Regions from separate parts of the Homo sapiens genome. Here regions 2 and 3 are each linked to region 1. Evidence: promoter capture Hi-C in human tissues and cell types (Jung and others, 2019). All regions are on one chromosome and are shown on one strand. Each heading gives the region's core, a stretch centred on a gene start or on the middle of the fragment in contact. The rest is flanking DNA. Distances are from core to core; before and after follow the strand shown. Region 1 holds the start of KCNJ12 (potassium inwardly rectifying channel subfamily J member 12). Region 2 overlaps USP22 (ubiquitin specific peptidase 22). Region 3 has its middle 14 kb from the start of USP22.

What was found. The method cuts DNA at HindIII sites, captures the fragments that hold promoters and counts their contacts. A contact is called where the count stands out against the background at its distance.
Region 2: a fragment that was not itself captured here is called in contact with the fragment with the promoter of KCNJ12 in region 1 in 2 of the 25 tissues and cell types used here (dorsolateral prefrontal cortex and mesendoderm cells).
Region 3: a fragment that was not itself captured here is called in contact with the fragment with the promoter of KCNJ12 in region 1 in 1 of the 25 tissues and cell types used here (spleen).

What each region holds. Positions count from the first base shown.
Region 1 is chr17:21,374,268-21,378,321 of GRCh38, forward strand. It overlaps KCNJ12 (potassium inwardly rectifying channel subfamily J member 12), which reads left to right and starts at 2,090. Exons shown (of 3, transcript NM_021012.5): 1 at 2,090-2,646. The HindIII fragment of the contact is 9,762 bases long and covers 1-4,054 here.
Region 2 is chr17:21,030,261-21,034,314 of GRCh38, forward strand. The region is part of intron 1 of USP22 (ubiquitin specific peptidase 22); the gene reads right to left. Among named protein-coding and RNA genes, the nearest start is that of USP22, 11 kb to the right of the region's middle. RefSeq lists an enhancer at 3,642-4,054. The HindIII fragment of the contact is 5,012 bases long and covers 1-4,054 here.
Region 3 is chr17:21,054,835-21,058,888 of GRCh38, forward strand. No RefSeq gene overlaps it. Among named protein-coding and RNA genes, the nearest start is that of USP22, 14 kb to the left of the region's middle. The HindIII fragment of the contact is 4,660 bases long and covers 1-4,054 here.

The sequences.
Region 1 (4,054 bases), core at 840-3,339:
ATGGCTCTGGGAGTGGGGATAGGGAGGGGCGGAGACCTGGCCTGACTCACAGTAGTCATCTTGGGTGTCGAGCCCCTGGGCAGGGGCCCTGTGTGTGTGTGTGTGGGAAGGGGGGGGTGGTGTTCCAGGCGTGAGGATGCCCTGGGCACAGCCACTTGTCCCAGGAGCTGTCAGAATCTTAGACCCAGAGGAGCCCTGAGGTGTTCCCGTCCATTCCCTTGCCCCTTTCTAGGCCACCAGAGTAAGGCCTCGAGGGAGGGATGTCTCAGGCCCCATTCCTCTTGGGACAGCTGAGTGGTCTCTGAGGGTGGGAGCTGGTTTGAGGCTTCTTCCGCAGCTGGCTTGGGCTTCCCCATCTGGGAAATGGAGCAGGGGCAGGTGGGGAGCTGAGTCATTTCCCTCCTTGGTCACTCGGAGGGAGAAGAAGGAAGTTTCCTGAGAGCTTTTGGTCCCCTGGGAGGCTGTTTCTCCCAGGAGGAGGAGGAAACCAGGACACAGTGTGCCAGGCAGGGCAGGGTGGGGGCTGCAGACTTCTGCGATGCCCCTTCTTTCTCCACTGCAGCCCTAAGTTGAGGACACACCTGATTCTGCGTACTGGCTCCACCATCTGGTAGTTCTGTAATTAAGCAAGTGACCACCCCTCTGTGCCTCAGTTCCTTCATCTGTAAAATGGAGCCAATGAGCTTATCCACCACAGATGGCCGCAGTGGTAATGAAATAATTCTAGCTGGGTCCATAGCACAGAGCTCAGAACATATTGAGTGCTCCGCCTGGCTGTTTTACCAGCCAAGTCAAGTGCTAAGCACTTTAGGTAGACTCATCTCATTTAATCCTTGCTACAGCCCCATGAGTGTAGTGATTTCTACTGACAACAGGGAAACAGAGGCACTGAGTGGTGAAGTGACCTGTCCCACAGCTAGTCAGTTGAGGTGGGATTCAAACCCAGGGCAGACTGATGTCGGTGAGTGCTGGGCTGGATTTCACCCACCAGCTGCCTGGGGCCAGGATCCTAGGGCTGGTGGGGCCTGCAGATCACTCTGCTCTGAGCCGCCAGCAATCTGGGTGCGGGCCAGAGAGCCGTCCTCCTCGGTTAGAATCCTGCAGCCAGTCTCCCTGCTGTGCAGACACATAATTATATTTCACATTAAAGGGGAAGCTGGAGGCCAAGGGGGCCAAGGAGCCCTTTGAGGCTCATGCTCTGGGCACAGACTGGCCTCCTCGGCCCAATTCTGAGGCCCTAGGGCCGAGCTGGGGGTCAGACTGGTGACAAAATGGAGTTCCCCTGGGTCAGTGTCCAGGCGAGCAGGTCTGTCTGCCAGGATGAAAGACTTGGCCCCTGCGGGAGGCTCAGAGATATGAGGCCCAGACAATAGGCCTCAGAAAGCTGGGAGGGCAGGGCATTTGGGGACAGGTTGGGAAGAAAGCCTGAGCCTCCAGAGACAGGGGCTCGAAAGAGAAGGGGGTCACATGGGGATCCGGTCGGCAGAGAGAGGTCCAGGGAGGAGCACAGAGAAGGCAGGAGATGGGAGAAGCCAAGCAGCTCAAGATGGAGAGGAGAAAAATGCTATTAGGGTGGGATGGTGTGTGTAGAGGGTGCGTGCCTGGTGTGCAGGGGAAAAGGGCTCTGTGGGAATGCACAAGCTTAGACCTGTGTGTGCGTATGCACACGTGCAGATGCCATCCTGCATGTGCACATATGAGCGAGTGTGCACATGTGCCCCTGCGAACATCATGCATGTGGGGGCATGTATCCTGCATGTTTATGCCTGTGTGTGTGCTCGCCATGCACCTGTGCGTGCGCGCGTGTCCCCGGCGGACGTGCCTGCATGTGTGTGTATGTGTGTGTGCGCGCATGTCCCCGGGAAGTCGTGCCTGTGTGTGTGTGTGTGTGTGTGTGTGTGTGTGTGTATATATATATGTGTGTGTGCGCGCGCGCGTCCCAGTGCGCAAGTGGCTGGCGGTGTGTGTGTAGGGGGCGGCCCGGGACTAGGAGGGGCTCGGGGCCAGGCCGGAGCCGTGGTAGGCTGGTGCAGCGGCTGCGCGGCGCGGCGCGGCGCGGGGCGGGCGTGCTCTCCGCGGAGAGTTAGAGGAGTTGCCGAGCTGAGCTCCGGTGGAGCGAGGCGCGGAGCTGGGTGCGCGCCGAGCCTCTGCCTCCCGCCGCCTCCTCGCCCTCCATTCCTCGCTCCCCGTCTTCTCCCGGCCACACCGCCACTGCTGCCGCCTCCCTGGGAACAGTAGCCGGGGGAGGGGGACTGGCGCGGTCAGAGCCTGCGAGGAGGTGCGGGGCGCCGGGGCGTAGGGGAGCGCGCCGGGCCCTGCCCGAGATCAGATAACAGCCGGCGGGGGAGGGGGTGGGCCGGCCGTGCTCACAGCCGGACCGAGGGACCGACGCCAGCCGCCCCGGCCCAAGCGAGCGCCCAGCGGCCGGGGGCGCCGTCCAGGCGCGCGCCCCCGACCCGTGGCTGGACCAGGGCGATCCGCTTTGCAGAGAAGACGCGCCCCTCGGCATGGAGCGCCCCCGGGAGCTGCCCTGAGGCGGTGGCGGCAGCGGCGGCGATGCAGCCAGCGCGGCAGCTGCCGGGGCCAGGAACGGCCGCCCGGAGCTTGGAGGACGCCGAGCGCGCCGCGCCCGGGCCACTGACCGAGGTAAGTGCGCGGCCGCGGGCGCATGGTCCCTCCCGGGCCCGGCCCCAGTTCCCCGCAGGCCGCGCCTCGCCACTAGCCCGGCCCGGAGCTAGCACGAGGTTGTGCAGCAACAGGGAAGGTGGAGCGGGAGGGTGTTTTCTTCCTCTCGTTTTATTTTTTTCCCTCCCTTGGTGAGACATCGGAGGAAATGCTGACTGCGAGCTTTTCTTTTCCTGCCATGTCTCCGGCTACCACCACAAGGAACTTTGCTCCTGGCTAACCTTCGTCCTGGGGGGCGCTCCGGGAAACTTTGAGGAGCCCTCGGCCCCCCTCTGACTGGTTTGCACTAGGGGGCTCGGGAGGGAGCGTGCGGAAGCACTCTGGCGCGCGGCACGGGTCCTACGCGTGACCTTCCCGGAGACCCCGCGATCGAGGTGGGGTTCGGAGGTGGGCGCCCGGGCTATATGAGCCGCCCCGAGAATGCCTCCCGTCAGAGACCTGCGGGTTCTTGGAGTCGTGTCTCTTTCTCACCTCCCGTGCTGTAATGGAGTAAAAATATTCTGGAAATGATTCCATGCCAGCAAGTCAGCCAAGTCCAGAGGCTCCCTTTTGCTTTTAGAAGTCGGCCTTGATCTCCGAGGGGATGGCCGCTGGCTGAGAAGCTCCCAGGGTTTCAGGGCCAGGGTCCACCCTGCGCGCGCACGGCCTCTCCGGGTGCCCTGGGGGAGCGGGGCGGGAATCAGGGGCTCATGGGCAGAGACAGCTGGGGTGGGGCGCTCCTTGGGGGGTTCAGATGGGAGTTGAGGCCCAAGCGAGTGTCTGTGCCTCGGTTTTGATCCAGCGTGCCCATGTCATGTGAATATTTTAAAACCTGTGATCAGAATGGGGGTCAAAGTGTTTCTTTGGGGACGGTCTTGTTCTGGGAGGTTTTCCTGCCTCCTCACAGCCTGGACTCGCCCGCACCTGGGACCTCCCCCTCCCCATTTCCCAGGGGGCGTTCCCATCTTAGAGTACCGCGCTGCCTGTGGCCATTTCTAGTTTCTTTTTTGCTCCCCTATACCCAGGTTCGAGCCCTGCAATAAAGCGCTGGGGACCTCCTGGCTCCCACATCTGCGCCCCAAACCCAGGTTCACAGGCTCCGTCTCCGAGAGCGCCGAGGCGCCCACACGCCACTGAAATCGGCAGCCGCCTTTGGAAGGTGCGAACCCGGAAGGCGTTAGCCTTGGGCCTAGCCTTCGCCCCCTCTGAGATGCCAAAGGAGAGCCGGTCCCTGGCCGCGCGGCTGGACCCCAGCCTCCCTCGCGCTGCGCTGCACCTCCGCGGCCCCTCCTCGCGCAGCTCCGCCCTGGACCGCCGCCCTGTGGCGGGCGAGGGTCAGAGAGGGGAGGTCCATCTCAGCCCTGGGCGCCACCAGAGGCTTTCGCTCTTT
Region 2 (4,054 bases), core at 957-3,456, 340 kb before region 1:
TGAGAAAAAGTCTGTACATGTTCAGTACTGATGCACCTATCCCTTTTTTCCCCCAAATATCTTTGATTTGTGGTTGGTTGAACCCACAGAGGTGGAACTCAGGCCGCTTGTGTGTGTGTGTGTGTGTATGTATGTATGTATGTATGTATGCATGCACACGTGTACTTGTGTATTGAGGCAATAGATATATACAGTTTCAGAGTATCACTCCAGAGACTACTTCAGTCAATTAAACGGGAAAAGATTACCTCTACAACAAAGAACTCTGGCCAACGCCACCCTAACCAAACTTATCCCCACCACAGAGCAGGCAAGTGCAGAGAACAACATGGCGGCGCCTGTGGCGTGCTCAGACCAACACGACCCATCTGGAACCTGCTCCTGAGAAGTAGGGAGGTATGTCCAAATTGAAGGACTTCTGCAAAATGACTGACCTGAGCTCTTCAAAAACATTAATGTAATGAAAGAAAAATAGGCTAGGAATTTCTAGATGAACCAAATCTAAAGACACATGAAATCAAATGCAATCCATGATCTTGGATTGAATCCTATACGCCAATTTTTAAAGGCATAAAGGATATTATTGGAACAATTCAGGTATTTAAAGTTGGACAATGTATGTTAGATAGTACTATTTGAAAAATTAAACTGAGTGTGATAACTGTATTGCGCTTATGTAGGAGACTGTCCCAGTTCTTAGGAGGTAAACTACCATGATGTCTACAGTCAGCCCTCAGATGATTCAGAAAAAGGTACAGACATAAAACCAGTTAGCAAGAAGCTAACAATTGATGAATCCATATAAATGTATACAATATTCATTTTAGCATTCTTGCTATTTGTTGTAGGTTTCTTATTTTCCAAATAAATGGATAGAAGACAACTATTAAATTGAACACATGTACCCTACAGCCTAACGCTTCAATTCATAGGTTTATACGCAACCAAAGACACGTACAAGGACTTTTGTAGCATTATTACTTGCAACACCGCAGAGCTGAAAATACAAATGTTCATGACTTGTAAAAAGAATAAACTATACTACAGTTAATTGAGTAAAGTACACAGCAATGAAAAGGAACTTATGATATACTCAGCAGCGTGGATGAATCTCAGAAACCTAACACTGAACAAAACAACTAAACACAACAAGCTCCTGCTGTGCTACACACTCCATTATAGTCTATCTCTACTACACAACCTAGGACTGTGCTACACACTCCATTATAGTCTCTCTCTACTACACAACCTAGGACTATGCTACACACTCCATTATAGTCTATCTCTACTACACAACCTAGGACTGTGCTACACACTCCATTATAGTCTCTCTCTACTACACAACCTAGGACTGTGCTACACACTCCATTATAGTCTCTCTCTACTACACAACCTAGGACTGTGCTACACACTCCATTATAGTCTCTCTCTACTACACAACCTAGGACTGTGCTACACACTCCATTATAGTCTATCTCTACTACACAACCTAGGACTGTGCTACACACTCCATTATGGTCTATCTCTACTACACAACCTAGGATGCTCCCCTGCACGGGTTTACCAATCACCAGGGAAGACACATTTTACAGGCCTTATGGAGCCAACACAGCTAAGAGACAGCTTCTCCAACATTATTCAAGCAGCCAACCAACAAGACAACTGGCGCTAAATACAGAAAACAGCTGTCTCTGACATACTGATAAAACCTCAATCTTATGTCTGGTATAGTCACACACCACATAGCAATGTTTCAGTGAATGACAGGCTGCATGTACAATGGCGGTCCCAGAAGATTATAGTATCATATTTTTACTGTAACCTTCTCTATGTTTAGCTATAGAAACACAAATGCTTACAACCGTCTTTCAACTGCCTACAGTGTTCAGTACGGTACGTGCTGTACAGGTTTGCTGCCTAGGAGCAACAGGCTCCATCTCACACAGCCTGGGTGTGCAGCAGGCTGTACCATCTAGCTTTGTGTTAAGTCACTCCATGATGTTCACACAAAGACAAAATCGCCTAACAATGCATTTCTCAGAATGTATCCTGTTGTTAAACAATGCCAACACTGCATTATTATTTTTCCCCAATCTACACTGTGGAACAGCACGTCCATTGATAATACTGTATCAGATTTAAATGTAACAGAGGCAGACACAGGAGTAAGGTAGCACATGTCTTCCAGTGTCTGGAGGAGGCCAGGAATAGCCTCTGGAGTGGCTACCCTGCAAACACTTTATTTTGGACGTCCAGTCTCATAATTTGAGATGAAATTTCTGTTGTTCTAAGTTAATCGGTTTGTGGTGGTTTGTTACAGCAGGCCCGGTCACTCACATGGGGTTCACATTCATTTTTATTCTATCTCCTTTCACAGCACTGTAAAGTAGAAAACACAGCCAGGCGTGTTGGCTCACGCCAGGAATGCAGCACTTTGGGAGGCCGAGGTGGGAGGACAGCTTGAGGCCAGGAGTTCAAGACCAGCCTGGGCCAAATGGTGAAACCTCATCTCTACAAAAAATGCAAAAATTAGCTGGGCATGGTGGCACACACCTGTAGTCCCAGTTACTCAGGATGGTTTGAGCCCAGGAGGTCAAGGCTGCAGTGAGCCAAGATCGCACCACTGCCCTCTAGCCTGAGCAACAGAACCAGACCCTGTCTCAAAAAAAAAAAAAAAAAAAAAAAAAAAAAAAGTTGAAAATGCATTCCCCAGGCACCCTTGCAGCTCATGTTCCAAACATATCTTGAGACACATTTGCAGACGATGCGGTTGGTGAGTAAGCTAAGGAGAGAGGCCCAGTGGGGGCATCCACAGGCTGACATGGACCGTGGAGGGGTGGCACTGTTTAAGCAGCCCAGCACACCACTTTCTGGTGTGGTGGCTCCTGCAGAGGCAGGATTCCCCAGGCTGGCGGGTTTTCCTAGAAATTCAACCTAGAATCTACTACTCCATAGCCCTTGCAATGATTTCTGAATTAAATCCTTTTCTCCTATAAATTAATTCAAGTAGATTCAGTAGACTGCAAGCAAATCCTGAAACATAACTAGGATTTGTATGTGACAGGAATTAGAAGAGGATCAATTATTTAATTGTTGTTGATCTTATGCAGTACAGAAACACCCTGCCAAATTCATTAATTTGGTCCCGATATTAAGAATATTCCTCTGAATATCCTGTCCTCTTATCTCCCCACTCACACTACCTCCCACCCCAAGAAGGATGCGGAGGAGCAAGAGGGGCAGAGCCCTTGTAGTCAACCAGACTTACCCTATGGGATGACTCAACAGTACACTGAATTTTGAGTCCAGCTTTTAAAAGTGTGCAAACATGACACACCACCTTAAGAGCTAGTGCACTTTTCACACATTACCCATGACTTCCTACTGGTCTAAAACCTGAGCATCTTAGGAAGGTAAGTTTAATTCTTGTGCATTCTCTTCAGTGACTTTTTCAAGGACTCAAACACTGACATAAGTGAAGGGACAGGTATAATTTTTTTTTTTTTTGAGAAGGAGTCTTGCTCTGTCACCAGGCTGGAGTGCAGTGGCGTAATCTCCGCTAACTGCAACCTCCGCCTCCCGGGTTCAAGTGATTCCCCTGCCTCAGCCTCCCGAGTATCTGGGACTACGGGCGCGTGCCACCATGCTCGGCTAACTTTTTGTATTTTAGTACAGATGAGGTTTCACCATGTTGGCCAGGATGGTCTTGAACTACTGACCTCAAGTGATCCACCCACCTCAGCCTCCCAAAGTGCTGGGATTACAGGCATGAGCCACCGTGCCCGGCCTAAATATTCTATCCTTTATATGAAAAAAAAAATACGGCACTAAAAAGCTAAAGACTTTGCCAAAATTAGATAATCTTCTCAAATTAAGTTCCCCAACCTCAAAAACCTCAGCTTCCAGACTCAGGCCCCTCAATCTCGGAGCCAAAATCAATCTAAGGGTACAGCGACTCCAGACCTTTCAATTTACAGAAGGGGTAATTTCATTCAGCAAAGGCAAGACCTCAGACTGACCTCATTTCAAGGCTGGGACCCAGCAGTTGCCGGTG
Region 3 (4,054 bases), core at 503-3,002, 320 kb before region 1:
GACTGAAGGAGTGAGGGCCACACTGTGAAGGGAGGTGTGAGGATGACCCTAGGACCACAGCTTGAACTGGATCCCAAAATGCCCTGGGCACAGTGCCACCTACAGCTTCAGAACCATCTTTATCTTATCCTGTCCACCTGGGAGTCCTCCTTCCCCGTCTCACCGTGATGACCTGCAGGAGTGTCTCTTAGCCACAGTCCTCCTCTGTGATTGTCAACCTATAGAAAATGTAAACTATAGATTTTAGAGAACCTTGTTCTGTAAAATCACGGACTGTCAGAAACTTTGCTGTTTGAAACCATGTTAGTGAGACTGGAACATTCTTTGACACAAAGAAGCAGCCTCAATTTCCAGCTGAAACAGGATTTTTCTCTTCTTTCTTTCTTTTTTTTTTTTTTTTTTTTTTTTTAGAAAAGAGCTTTTTAACTTTGGGAGGCTGACGTGGGCGGATCACGAGGTCAGGAGATCAAGACCATTCCGGCTAACACGGTGAAACCCCTTCTCTACTAAAAATACAAAAAATTAGCCGGGTGTGGTGGCGGGCGCCTGTAGTCCCAGCTACTCAGGAGGCTGAGGCAGGAGAATGGTGGGAACCCAGGAGGCAGAGCTGGTAGTGAGCTGAGATGGCACCACTGCACTCCAGCCTGGGCAACAGAGCAAGACTCGGTCTCAAAAACAAACAAACAAACAAACAAACAAACAAAGGAGCTTTTTAAGCACAACATCCTACATTTATTTTAACTTTGTAGTTTCTAAGGGAACAGGACCCTGGGTCGGCTTCTGATGTTAACCCCTTTATAGCTTTACACACATAATCCTGCTTGCTTCACGCCTATCCACAACACTGATTCATTTATATTGTACCTAACCTCCACCCTCCTCCAGATCCTGTAAGAACCCTGCCTCTATGTGGCCAGGCGCAGTGGCTCATGCCTGTAATCCCAGCACTTTGGAAGGCTGAGGCGGGTGGATCATGAGGTCAGGAGATCGAGACCATCCTGGCTAACACGGTGAAACCCCTCTACTAAAATACAAAAAATTAGCCGGGAATGGTGGCGGGCGCCTGTAGTCCCAGCTACTCGGGAGGCTGAGGCAGAATGGCGTGAGCCCAGGAGGCGAAGCTTGCAGTGAGCAGAGATCGCACCACTGCACTCCAGCCTGGGAGACAGAGCTAGACTCCGTCTCAAAAAACAAACAAACAAACAAACAAACAAACCCTTCCTCTACCTTTGTTTGAAGAGGACACCAGGTTCCTCAGGTAAGTGATCACTCTTGCTGCAAGGATGCTAAGAAATCCATTGTTTTGGGACTACAGGTTTGTCCCTGTTAGGTTGTATTACCGTCCTGGAAATGGTACATTTATAGCCTAACAAATATACAGGAATGGATTTTTACATCCACAGAGTAGAGAACAAAGAGAAAAATTGCCCCTCTGTCATCACAGAACTTTACATCATGTTTTCTAAAAGTTTAAAACTCAAAAATGTGGCCGGGCACGGTGGCTCACACCTGTAATCCTAGCACTTTGGGAGACTGAGGCAGGTGGATTGCCTGAGCTCAGGAGGTCGAGACCAGCCTGGACAACACAGTGAAATCCCACCTCTACTAAAAATACAAAAAAATTAGCCAGGCATGGTGGCGTGTGCTTGTAATCCCAGCTACTTGGGAGGCTGAGGCAGGAGAATTGCTTGAACCCAGAGGGCAGAGGCTGTAGTGAGCCGAGATCGCGCCACTGCACTCCAGCCTGTGTGACAGAGTGAAATACCATCTCCAAAAAAAAAAAAAAAAACCTCAAAAATGTTCCCTAATGTGTTATTCCCGTGAATAACTCATGTGACTCCTGTAGAGACATTCAGTAACACCCTCCCCTTTGAACTTTTGAACTGATGCTGAAGGAGAGCCCCCTTATTATAAAAATGCACGTTTAGATCTCTTTTCAGATGTGCAGCCTTTTTTTTTTTTTTTTTTTGAGACGGAGTCTTGCTCTGTCGCCCAAGCTGGAGTGCAGTGGCGCGATCTTGGCTCACTGCAAGCTCCGCCTCCCGGGTTCACGCCAATCTCCTGCCTCAGCCTCCCGAGTAGCTGGGACTACAGGCACCCGCCACCACGCCTGGCTAATTTTTTGTATATTTAGTAGAGATGGGGTTTCACCGTGTTAGCCAGGATGGTCTCGATCTCCTGACCTCGTGATCCGCCCACCTCGGCCTCCCAAAGTGCTGGGATTACAGGCATGAGCCACCGTGCCCAGCCCAGATGTTCAGCCTTTAAAAAACTGTTCTATGGAATGTTAGAATGAATATCACACTGAAGCCTCAAATAAGCACCAGCCACCCAACTGAAAGGGTGACCAACTTATGGTCATCTTGTCAGAAATTGCATCCTCTCAGCTGAACCCACAGCTAGGGTTGCGGCAAGGATGTTCCCTTGTCTGGTACCCTTGTTCCCCTGTTCCCTTGTTCCCTGGTCTGGTACCCCAGACCAGCCCTGGATGGGATTCCAAAGAAAGAAGCACCAAACGCCAGGGTGACCAGTGCAAAGCATGCATTAGGGCGCTTACATACATAGGGCTGTCACAGGCCTCAGGTGGCCTTCAGGGAAATGGGTGCCCCCCGGAGAGGAGCCCTTGGAGAGGGGCGTGGGGAAGGTGTCAGTTGCTACATGTTTAGCAAGATGTTTGATCTTGAAGTGTTTTGGACAACAACATAAGCAAGTTTATCAGTGCCTGGGAATGTTCAGGGCCCCAGCTCAGGTTCCAGCCCACAGCGGAAGCATGCAGCCAGCCAGATCACAGAGTGGCCAAGGTGCTCTCTGTGTCTCAGAAAGAAAGTGGGAGAAACTGGGAGACCCTACACATATAAGCTTCTAACCAAACTCCCCAATTCTACTTTATTTTTGACTATTTTCTAACCTAAAGAGAAGTCATAAGAATTATGCAGTGAGCACCCATAGACACTTCATCTAGATTCTCTAGTTAGCGATACGTTTTTAATCCAGTTTTCTTACCACTTTACCTTATCTCTCCACGTATATTTTTAATTTAAATTTTGTGTTTGAGTTACTTACAGACACACTTTGAGTTACTTGCAGACAAGCTAGAAGAACTAGTTTCTTCTGCAAAACCATGGTGCAATGATCATATACTGGAAATTTAACTTCAATACAATACATTCCCCTATACGCATTGCCTCATATACAATGCATTTCATAATCCATATTCAGATTTCCCCCTAATTGTACCAAAGGGTCTCCTATAGCTGTTATTAGTTTCCATTCAAAATCCAACCAAGGCTCTCACATTGCATTTGGTTTCGTGTCAATTGTGACAGCCTTGTGAAATTTCTTTATTATTTGTTTATTTATTTTTGAGACAAGATCTCATTCTTTCACCAAAGCTGGAGTGCAGTGGCGCAATCACAGCTCACTGCAGCCTCTACCTCCTGGGCTCAAGTGATCCTCTTGCCTCAGCCTCCTGAGTAGCTTGAACCACAAACCACAGCCACCACACCTGGCTTTTTTTTGTTGTTTTTTGAGAGACGAGACCTTGCTGTGTTGCCCATGCTATTCAAACACCAGGACTCAAGTTGAGCCATTGTGCCTGGCCTGAAATTTCTTTGTGTGCACAGGGCCCTCTCTTCCCTGCAGATCCCAAAGTGATTTCTGGTAGATATCTTGCGTATATTCAGATGTAAAAGAAAGTTTGTCATTTTGATGTGTTAAAGAACTTGGGGGGTCAAACAGTCCCAGACTGCCCAGTGAGCATTCTCTTTCTTCCTTCTTGCAATGCAGCAACAAAGTCTTGTTTTAAAATTATATACCTCTGGCTGTCTTTTTCCCACAAGGGGAGCTGCAGACAGAAGCTGAAGGAGCTGTGAGTCATGCAGTCAGGATAGGGCTCTCCAGGCCCCCAGGGAGGGAGGCAAAAGTGAGGAGATGCATGTTCTCTGCAGTTGCCAAGAACCTGGTGGACCAGGGTACCGAGAGGCAAGCCCTAAGCCACATGCCAGTCAAACACAGCAGAGAGGTGGCCCCCAGACCTCATTTCTACTAAAGCAGA